Regions from separate parts of the Homo sapiens genome. Here region 1 is linked to region 2. Evidence: promoter capture Hi-C in human tissues and cell types (Jung and others, 2019). All regions are on one chromosome and are shown on one strand. Each heading gives the region's core, a stretch centred on a gene start or on the middle of the fragment in contact. The rest is flanking DNA. Distances are from core to core; before and after follow the strand shown. Region 1 overlaps LOC112267974 (a long non-coding RNA gene). Region 2 holds the start of SMLR1 (small leucine rich protein 1).

What was found. The method cuts DNA at HindIII sites, captures the fragments that hold promoters and counts their contacts. A contact is called where the count stands out against the background at its distance.
Region 1: a fragment that was not itself captured here is called in contact with the fragment with the promoter of SMLR1 in region 2 in 1 of the 25 tissues and cell types used here (aorta).

What each region holds. Positions count from the first base shown.
Region 1 is chr6:130,318,601-130,323,496 of GRCh38, forward strand. LOC112267974 (a long non-coding RNA gene) reads left to right here. Exons shown (of 3, transcript XR_002956398.2): 3 at 1-4,896. It also overlaps a transcript of SAMD3 not described here. Among named protein-coding and RNA genes, the nearest start is that of TMEM200A, 45 kb to the right of the region's middle. The HindIII fragment of the contact is 6,413 bases long and covers 1-4,896 here.
Region 2 is chr6:130,823,877-130,828,797 of GRCh38, forward strand. It overlaps SMLR1 (small leucine rich protein 1), which reads left to right and starts at 3,530. Exons shown (of 2, transcript NM_001195597.2): 1 at 3,530-3,775. The coding sequence starts at 3,538. RefSeq lists an enhancer at 2,273-2,567. The HindIII fragment of the contact is 14,306 bases long and covers 1-4,921 here.

The DNA of each region.
Region 1 (4,896 bases), core at 1,922-4,421, 510 kb before region 2:
GTATTTTTAGTAGTGATGGGGTTTCACTATGTTGGCTAGGCTGGTCTTGAACACCTGACCTCAAGTGATCTGCTCACCTTGTCCTCCCAAAGTGCTGGGATTACAGGCATGAGCCACTGTGCCCAGCCCATCTAATAAAATATTAATAGGCATGGAAAGACACAGGAAAACAGGGCCCACAAGCTGGTAAAGAATAATTAGTTGAAATTAGCCCAGAAATTACATGGATAATCAGTTATTGAAGACATTAAGCTTATTGATAAGGTTGTTAGTTCTGTTATTAAAACAGAACATAGATATTCCATATATTTATGGAGCTAGAGAAAAGATTGAACTGTTAGTTATAGATATGAAGATACAAAAATCGAATTTCTTAAGGTTAAAATTATAATGTGTGAGATAAAAAGACAGACTGGATCAATGACAGATTAGGTATTGCAGAAAAAATGATGAGTGAACTTGAAGACATGGTAATAGAAATTATCCCAAATGAAACTATCCAAGAAGGAAAAAATCCTGAACGAATCAATAAAGCATCAGTGGGTTGTGAGGCAACTTCAAGCAAACTAATACAGGAGAATTTGGAACCCCCACAGGAGAAGAGAGAGAGGGACAGAAAAACATTTGAAAGAAATAATTACTAAAAACATTTCCAAATGTGATGAAAATTATAAACCTCAGGTCTAAGAATCTTAAAGAACTCCAAGCATAGGAAACATGAAGAAAAGTATGCAAAGACACGTTATAATGAAATTGCTTAAAACCAGTTAAAAAAAGAAAAATTTAAAAGCCCGAAGCGAAAGACACATTAGATACAAAGGAAAAAAGACAAGGAGGAGAGCAGAGTTCTTGATGAAAACAATGCAAACTAGACAACAGTGGAGCAACATCAGTAAATACTGAAAAAACAAAAACAAAACTTTCAGCCTGTAATTTTTTATCCAGGGAAAACATCTTGCAAAAATGAAGGTACATATTAGTTAAAGGAATTAATCACCAGCAGACCCTGCCCTACAAAAAATGTTGAAAGAAGTCTTTCAAGCATAAGGCAAATGATGCTAGATGGAAATTTGGTCCTATACAAAATAATGAAGAGAATTAAGAAATGGCATGTAGAAAAATATAGAGAATTTTCTTATTAAATATCTTTAAAATATAATCAATGGCTTGAGGCAGAATTAAAAACCAAATATTGTGGGGTTTTAATGTGTAAGTTTAACATGTAGAAGTAAAATGCATGAAAGCAGCAGCAAAACAAATAAACAAAAAATACCCAGAAGGGGAAAATTAGAAATAATTGTAGACCTGACATGGCTAAGAAAAGAATCAGTAAACTTGAAGCAGATCAATAAAAAGTTTCCAAAATGAATTGCAAAGAGAAAAAAATAAACACACACACACATGCACACACACACGTCCCCCAACACATTAAAAAATTGTGGAGAATATGAAAATGGAATAATACAAACTATTCAATCCATCCAAAAGAAGGCAGTAAAAGGAAAAAGGCAATAAAGAACAAATGGAAAAAATGGGAAATAAATATCAAACGCATATCTAATAAAAGACTCAGATCCAGAATATACAGAGAATTCTCAAAACTCAAACAACTCTTTCCTCTTCAAAAAAAGAAATGGGGGAAATCTGAACAGAAGCTTCATCAAAGAAGATAAATGAATAGCAAGTAGGTAGATGAAAAAATGTTAAATAGCACTAATCATTGAGGAAAGGAAAACTAAAGCCACAAAAGAATGTCACTATGCACGTATTAGAATGGCTAAAATTAAAAATCAAATGTTGGGGGAGAATGTGGAGCAACTGGAATTCTCACACATTGAATGGTGGGAATGGAAAATGGTCCTGCCACTTTGGAAAACAGCTTGGCAGTTTTAAAAAAGATACATATAGCTGCTGTATGACTCAGGTATTGCGTGCTCATGTAACTATCCAAGATAAATAAAAAGATTTGCACATGAATGTTTATAGCAACTTTGTTTGTAACGGCCCCAAACTAAAAACAACCTAAATGCCCATCAACAGGTGAATAGATTAACAGTGTTACAATCAATGACATAAAGAGGAATGGATTATTGATATACTCAAGAACATGGATAAATCTCAAAACAATTATGCTGATTATTATTTATATAAATGTCTAATTCCATTTATATAAAATTCTTAAAATTACACACTGATCTATAGTGATACACAGCAGGTCCATGTCTACCTTCCAGGTATATCTGACTTCATCTTCTGTGCTTCTCTCCTTTGCTTCCTGGGCTCCAGACAAGCAAATCTTGCTGTTCTTTGAACACATCAAGAATGTGCCTGTCTCAAGGTTTACATATTTGCTGATCCCTTGACATGGGTAATGCTTCCCCAGAGAGTTTGCTCCTTACTTCATTCTAGCCTCTCATCCAATATCACTTTGTCTAACATAACTCCCAATGATCTCTGCCTGCTTGTATTTACTAGGTGAGTGTGGGCTGGACCTAGTGACTCACTTGTAGCAAATAGAATGCAATGAAGTGATAGGATGCCACCTCCACAATGAGGTTACAAAAAGAGTCTGGCTTACATCTTTCATGCTCTGTACCAGTCTTTCTCATTCTATCTTTCTTAGAACTCTTGTCAATTGCCTTACGGACAGACCTATAAGGCAAGAAACTGATATCTGTGATCGAGAGCCAGTGAGCACCTGGGGCTTGTCACTGGCCATGTGAGTGAGCTTGGAAGCAGATACTCTCCCAGTTAAGCTTGGAAATGATTGCAGCCCCAACCCTGATGGCTGACTTGTGAGAGACCTCCTTGATTCACAGGCACCCAGTTCATCTGCACCTGGATTGCTGACCCATGGAAATGGCGAAGTAATAAATGTTTGTTATTTTAAGCTGCTAAACCTCTGGATAATTTTTTATGCAGCCATAGACAACTAATCCAGAGGTGTTCCTTAGAAAACTATGTAAAATATCCCCACTGACACATACAATTCCCAGTACTCATTGTCCTCTTACCTTGTTTTTTCTCATTCAAGACATTTTTCATCATTCAAAGTATTATTATATGTTATATATGTGCTAACTTGCTGTCTGTCTCTCATTCCCCCAATAAAATAAGATGAGAACAGCATCTTATATCTAGGGCCCGAAACACTGCCTGGCCAAGCTACGTATATATCCATTACATATTTGACACCTTTATATAAAATTTGAAAAAAAAGTCTAGACTATAAGGCAGGCTCCTTTTAGCTAGATATATTCTACATATATTCAGACCTCAACTCAAGGACAGAGGCCATCACAGAAAACCAGAAGAATGAGAAATTCCTTAAGCTACTGTGTCCCTTTTTCCCTAGGATCAGGCAAACACACTACTAATTCATCATACACTTAAAAATATTTGGAAAGGAGGAATAAGCAGAGAAGACAACTACCTCTCTGGTCAAGAGGAGCTGTGAGGGCCTGATCCAGCCACAGGGTGAAAATCACTATGGGAACTCATTAGTGAGGGTTTAACTGAGCCATCAGAGAGGCAAGGCTGGAGCGAGGCATCCAAAGGGGCCAGGCAAGGGTGGAATGGAGGCTAGTCCAGAATTGGGACAGGGACAGAGGCGGAATCTGGTTCTTGGTTGAGCCACAGCTTCAGGAACCAGCAGCAGGCTGAGAGAGAGAGAGATGGACCCCAAGGAAGTTCTTTTTCTGCCCAAGCCAGAGTACAGGTCGAGGCATCAAGGCTGGAGTGGAAGGCTGGGAATCAGGCATTTTCTCATAGATTGTAGGACGAGTAAGAGCAGAAGGTACAAGTGAGATGACACGAGACATCTCCACGGAGCTGTGACTACAGATAGGTCTGCATACATAGACAGTGTTCATTCAAAGTACATTGTAGTAGCCGGGCATGGTGACACACGCCTGTAATTCCAGCTACTCGGAGGCTGAGGCAGGAGAATCACTTGAACTCGGGAGGCAGAAGTTGCAGTGAGCCGAGATTGCACCACTGCACCCCAGCCTGGGCGACAGAGTGAGTGAGACTGTCTCAAAAAACCAAACCAAACCAAAGCAAATGGTTCAATGGTTTTATGTGGGATCAATGGTTTTATGAGCAAGGTGGAAACCTAACAACCATTCATGATATCATTTTTATGTTAAGATGATTTGAGTATTCCAAGCAACTAATGCAAAAGCAGAAATTTTGAAGAATCCTAAATTTGAGTTTACTTGAATTAACAATTTCTGTCAATCGTGGAAGCTGCTGCTATGGCCCACTAGGTGGCAGTATGGGAGTGATTTGCTGGTTAACAGAAAATGGAATAGGCTTGACTCTCAAGCCACTAGTTTGTTTTTTTCCTAGCATTTAAAAGTTGACAATAGAAAATGTTCATGGAATAATAGATGGAAAGTCAGACAAGGACTATCATGCAAAGGCCATTGACATATAAAATAAAACCGTTTTACAAGCAGTTACCATGGAGCATTTTATAAAAAGTCAAAACAGCAAATAATGTCTGCTGTTCATAATAAATATAATGTTTTTAAGTGATTCTTCTGATAGGTGAATGTTAGACAGATATAAAATAGAGACAAGTGAGAGAACAGGACAACGGATACCTCTTTCCCAGACCTTGCAAAAACCAGGCTCCCTGAAGCCTCTATGTTGGGGTTTTCAGTTCCCAGATCCCTACTTCCTCTTTACCCATCCACACTCCTGGCTTCCCTGTGAGATGCTCTTGGCAGCAAATCCCTGACAAGTCACATCATTCAAGTATCTTAATTCACTCTTTCACTTGTATTTCCCTGAAATTATGGACAAAGACACACTAATATTTTGCAAGGTAAAATTTCCAATTTTTTTTTTTTTTGTATGATGAGTGCTTAGACTATTGCTGTACATGTTAAG
Region 2 (4,921 bases), core at 2,280-4,779:
ATTTCAAATAATTATGATGAGTGAAGGAAGCTAGGTAGAAAGAGACATATTGCATGACTCCATTCATATAAAATTCTAGAAAGTGCAAATGAATGTACAGTAACAGATAATAAATGAGTGATTGCCTGAGGATTGAGGGAGTGGGAGGGGTGGGGGACAGGGATAGGAAAGGACACAAGAAAACTTTGGGGGTGGTGGGTATGTTCACCATTTGATTGTGTTGATGAATTTGTGGGCATATCCATATGTCAAAACATATCAAATTGTACACTTGAGATATGTGCAGTTCGTTGTATGCAATTGTACCCCAGATGAGCTACTTAAAGAGACAAAAAAAGGAAAAACTTTACAATTATGTTCTCAAAACTTTCTGTGTGGATCGGGATTACCTTGGATCCTGTAGATGGTACTACTTATCTCCTCTCTTTCTTGAAACTTTCTTTTGCCACCATTTTCCTAACATTATTCCCTCTAGGCTCCTTTCTCACCTCTCAGAGCCTCCTGTCTTCTCTGTTTTTTTCTTGGTTCTTATCCTTCCTCCTATGTCTTAAACAAGAGCATTCTTTAGGGTCTGTAGTTGGTTTCTCTTTTATTCTGATATATACTCCTTTCTGAGGCATCTCTCCATCCTTCCACCTCAGCTACTATCTATACAATAATAAATCCCAAATCTACATGGCAAGACTTGGCCTCTCCATATTCCTACCAGGCTCCGATCAAACACCTCTACACCACTTCCAACTTAAGACTGCAAAATGACATATCTTCCCCCATCCACACCTGCTGCCCAGCATGTGTTGAGGTCTCGGTTTGCAGCACCACCATCTCTGCAGTTAACCATTGCACAGTGGATGAGAGCATGGGCACTGGATTTGAGTCCTAACTTTGTCACTTATCAGATTTGTTTCTTGGGCAAGTCATTTACCTTCTCTTTGCTTTGCTTCTTCATCTTTATGAGTCTGTTCCACATAAGATTACTGTGAGGATTAAATAAGATTATAAACATAAACTGTTGTATATCGTGCCTGACAAATAGTAAGTGTTCAAAGATTACTTTGTGGTAATCTTTGAATTGCATGTGTCACAGCTGTTTGTTTCATTTCTGCAGCTTTCTTGTCCCCTTCTCTCTCCCTCTGCCATCTCTAATCCCAAACTCATTATATCTTGCTACCATGATGAGACAGCCTATTCTGATCTCTTCTCTTCAGTCCCTTCTTTAAAGTCCTACCTAAGTGACCACTGAGCTCAGGTCAGGTCATGTACTTCCATGATCAAAGACCTTTAATTGGTCACCTTTGTTCAAATAGCATGGGACATAACAGGACATTCCAGAGTCTAATAGCTCTAACACCACCCCACTCTTCCAGCCTCAACGTGTAAGACACTCTCTGGCCTGAACCCCACATCACCCAGCTACTCTCAATTATTCTGCCCTATCCTCCTTAAACCCTAACCAGCGCTCCTGTCATGTGTTTGAGGAGGGCATTCTTCAGCTACCCACCTTCCAGGATCAGCTCAAATATCCCTCTTTCTTTTTTTCTTAGCCAGGTCTCATTCTGTCACCCAGGCTGTGGAGTGCAGTGGCACGATCATGGCTCACTGCAGCCTTGACCTCCCCAGGCTCAAGCAATCCTCCCACCTCAGCCTCCCGAGTAGCTAGGACTACAGGTGTATGCCACGGCACTTGGCTAATGTTTTATCTTTTGTAGAGACAGGATTTCACCATGTTTCCCAGGCTGGTCTCAAACTCCTGAGCTCAAGCAATCCACCCACCTCAGCCTCCCAAAGTGCTGAGATTACAGGCATGAGCCACTGTGCCCAGCCCAATTCCATGGCTGGAATTAATCAGTCTCTCTTCAGTGCTTCCACTATACTTTGTTTATATGTTGATCTGGAAGCTAACATTATTGTCATTTATTTTCCTGTTCCCCTAACTTACCTTTGTTTAGGCATTCAATGAAGGCTTGCTGAATGGAAATGAAACAGGAAGAAAGAATATGACAAACAGTCTGCCTAACAGCTGCCTGACATCTCCCTGGTAATGTCACTTGCTCACAGAGGTTCTTTGAAGATTGACACTTTACAAATTAGCATCCTGTTCAAACTGAAAGAGCACCAGAGAAACATCTCAATGGAAGGCATGCAAGTATAATAGCAGTAACACCATTCACAGGTTTGCAGAGTGGGAGAAGAGAAATACGTGAGTAAATGAATGCTGACTTAAACTCAGGTATTCTGAAGGGTTCCTCCTGAAATTAAGATGTCTCTCTTCTGAAAGAGAAGTTGCTAACTCTTCATTGATCAGGAATGCAGGCATGTACCCTGAGACCCTCTCCAGTCTTATTATTTTGTAAATTAGGGTGCAAACTTTACAGCTGGGGCTAAGACTGCATGACCATGCAAAGTCCCTGATGCAAGAATGTGGGAGGCACTGACAGCGGCTTGCCCTTGATAGACTCCTCCAGCCACCACTAAAGGGCGCCAGGGACAGGGTTAGAGTGTGACAGAAGGAATGAGCCCAAGAAGGTGGCTGCCAGTTTCTCTTCCCCACATTCTTCCAAATTCTCCAGGGCATCTTTTGAATATGACTCTTTTAGTCAGTTTTCATTTTTAGACCAATATTTTTGGAAATTTTTCACTAAAGCAGTCAATGACAACTCAACATAGTCAACAAGTCAATGTCAACTTTGACATTGGTCCATTGATTGCCCTTTCTTTTCCCAGAAACTCTGGAGTTACCACACAACCCATACCACTATCAATGAGAGGCCACCTTCTAACTGCGAATGGTGGACCACAGGAAAGGCCCAGTAGAGCAGAGGAGAGTATATGACCTCATGCAGCCAGCAAGGACGAATGTACCTCAGGAAGAAGGAGATGGGGCTACATCATGGGCCACTCCGCCACGGACACTGTGGCCATTCTCTGTTTGTCTATCTCCACTCTTAAAGGCCAGGGGCCATGACTTACTCTTCTTTGTATACCCAGCATCTAGTTCAGAAGTTGGGTTCTAGTAGAATTAAATGTTTGTTGAATAAATGAATAAACCAATGCACTTCTCAGAGAAGTATTCTGAGTAGGATATATGAGGAAGAATTTCTACTTGTGGGAAAAGCCTTGTTTCTCTTTCCTTGGTATTAATTGTATCAACTATGTATAAAGGAACATTCACTTTTTTCTAGACATAAGTACTTAGGTACAGTGGCATAACTATTAAGAAATTTTTAACTCTAAAATTTAGGAAATACAGGGAAAACTCTTCTGTGTCTGAGAATACATAGAAAGAATATACATAACAACAAGTTTTGCTTGGTTGGGTAATTTTCATTCCAAATAAACTTATCACAAAAAAACTCAGCTTCCCAAGGTCATTCCCCCGCTGCCAGATACATACTTATCTCTGAAAGAGCTTGGAAGATGGACCTTTCAATTCCTCTACAATTAGTAGCTGAGTTACAGAGTAACCTGCCAGCAATCCTATCAGCATTCATCAGACTATTTAAATAGAGCAAAGTCCACAAAAAATTCCACTGAGACATGCTGAGCAAAGGCCGGAGCCCCAGAAGAAAACAAGTACAGACTCAGAGGAAAGCTGCCCTGGTCCTGAGTGTGACTCCCATGGTCCCCGTGGGGTCTGTGTGGTTGGCAATGAGCTCTGTGCTGTCAGCTTTCATGAGGGAGCTCCCTGGCTGGTTCCTGTTCTTTGGGGTCTTCCTCCCCGTGACTTTGCTGCTGCTCCTCCTCATCGCCTACTTCAGGATCAAACTGATTGAGGGTAAGTGTGAGGCCACACAAGGAAGAACTTGGGCATCCTTTCCCACAGCACATCTTGAAATATACCGATGCACTGTCAGTGTTTTCTGGCCAGGAGAAACATATATATATATATTTTGTAGGTACTTCTCAATCAGTGTTCTCTCAAGTTCCTTGATCAATTTGGCCAAGTTTGATCCTTTCCACTGTGTGGATCTTGTGCTGAGATGTGAAGGTCTGCTGTAGGGGGCCCTCACGTGTAGCACCTCACAGACATACTGTGAATCAGCAATTTTGACATATGGTTGCTTGTCTCTCTCTCTCAAGGCAATAGAGTCACATATGTGAAAACATTGTTCATGGTCTGCCTTCTTTACATGACAGATGTGTTTATGTGGCCATGTGTGTGCATGTCCGTGCGTGTGTATGCGCCCGTGTGTGCACACACACAACTTTCTCATCCACTGAACTTCTGGTCAGGGAATGTTCCAAACATTCTGCTGTCACAGTCTTTGTAAATGTAAAGCCCTGATAGATAAATACTTGACCTTGGTGTAAACGTTCCATGGGATTATAGTCTTAAGGTGGAAAAAAACCAAACCAAACAAATAACTCAGGAAGCTTAAGGTGATTTGGAATGGACATTCGGGTCTTGGATTGACACTGTTTATTCTGCTATAATTAAAATTAATGAAACTGGGCTGTAACTAGATAGACTATGTGTTAATACTGTGCCAAGTACACATGAGATTAATATCATCAAGGTTAATAACTATTTTAGCAAAATCAACAAAGACCAGTCATATTTCTTAATTTGGATAGTGTCATATTAAAACAAATTTGAAAAACCCTCCTCTTTGAACATCTGTTTATGTAATAACATACATGAAGGCATTTCTTGGACTTGCCAAGCTTTTGTGGTAATCTTAGATCACTAATGCTATAATATATAACCTAACAGAAGTGCAATGAGGGATATTTCTTCCTAAGATGAGATTTGGAACATAAAGAAATCCTAGGAGACACAGACAGTATGTCATGGAATCAAGTTTTTCATCACAACTTACTCAAATATGCCCCTAGCCTTTCATTTTTCGTGTGTCTCATTTTTATGAACAGCCCTTTTGCTGAGGGGTCAAGCCATATTCTGCCTCACTCTATAATATTC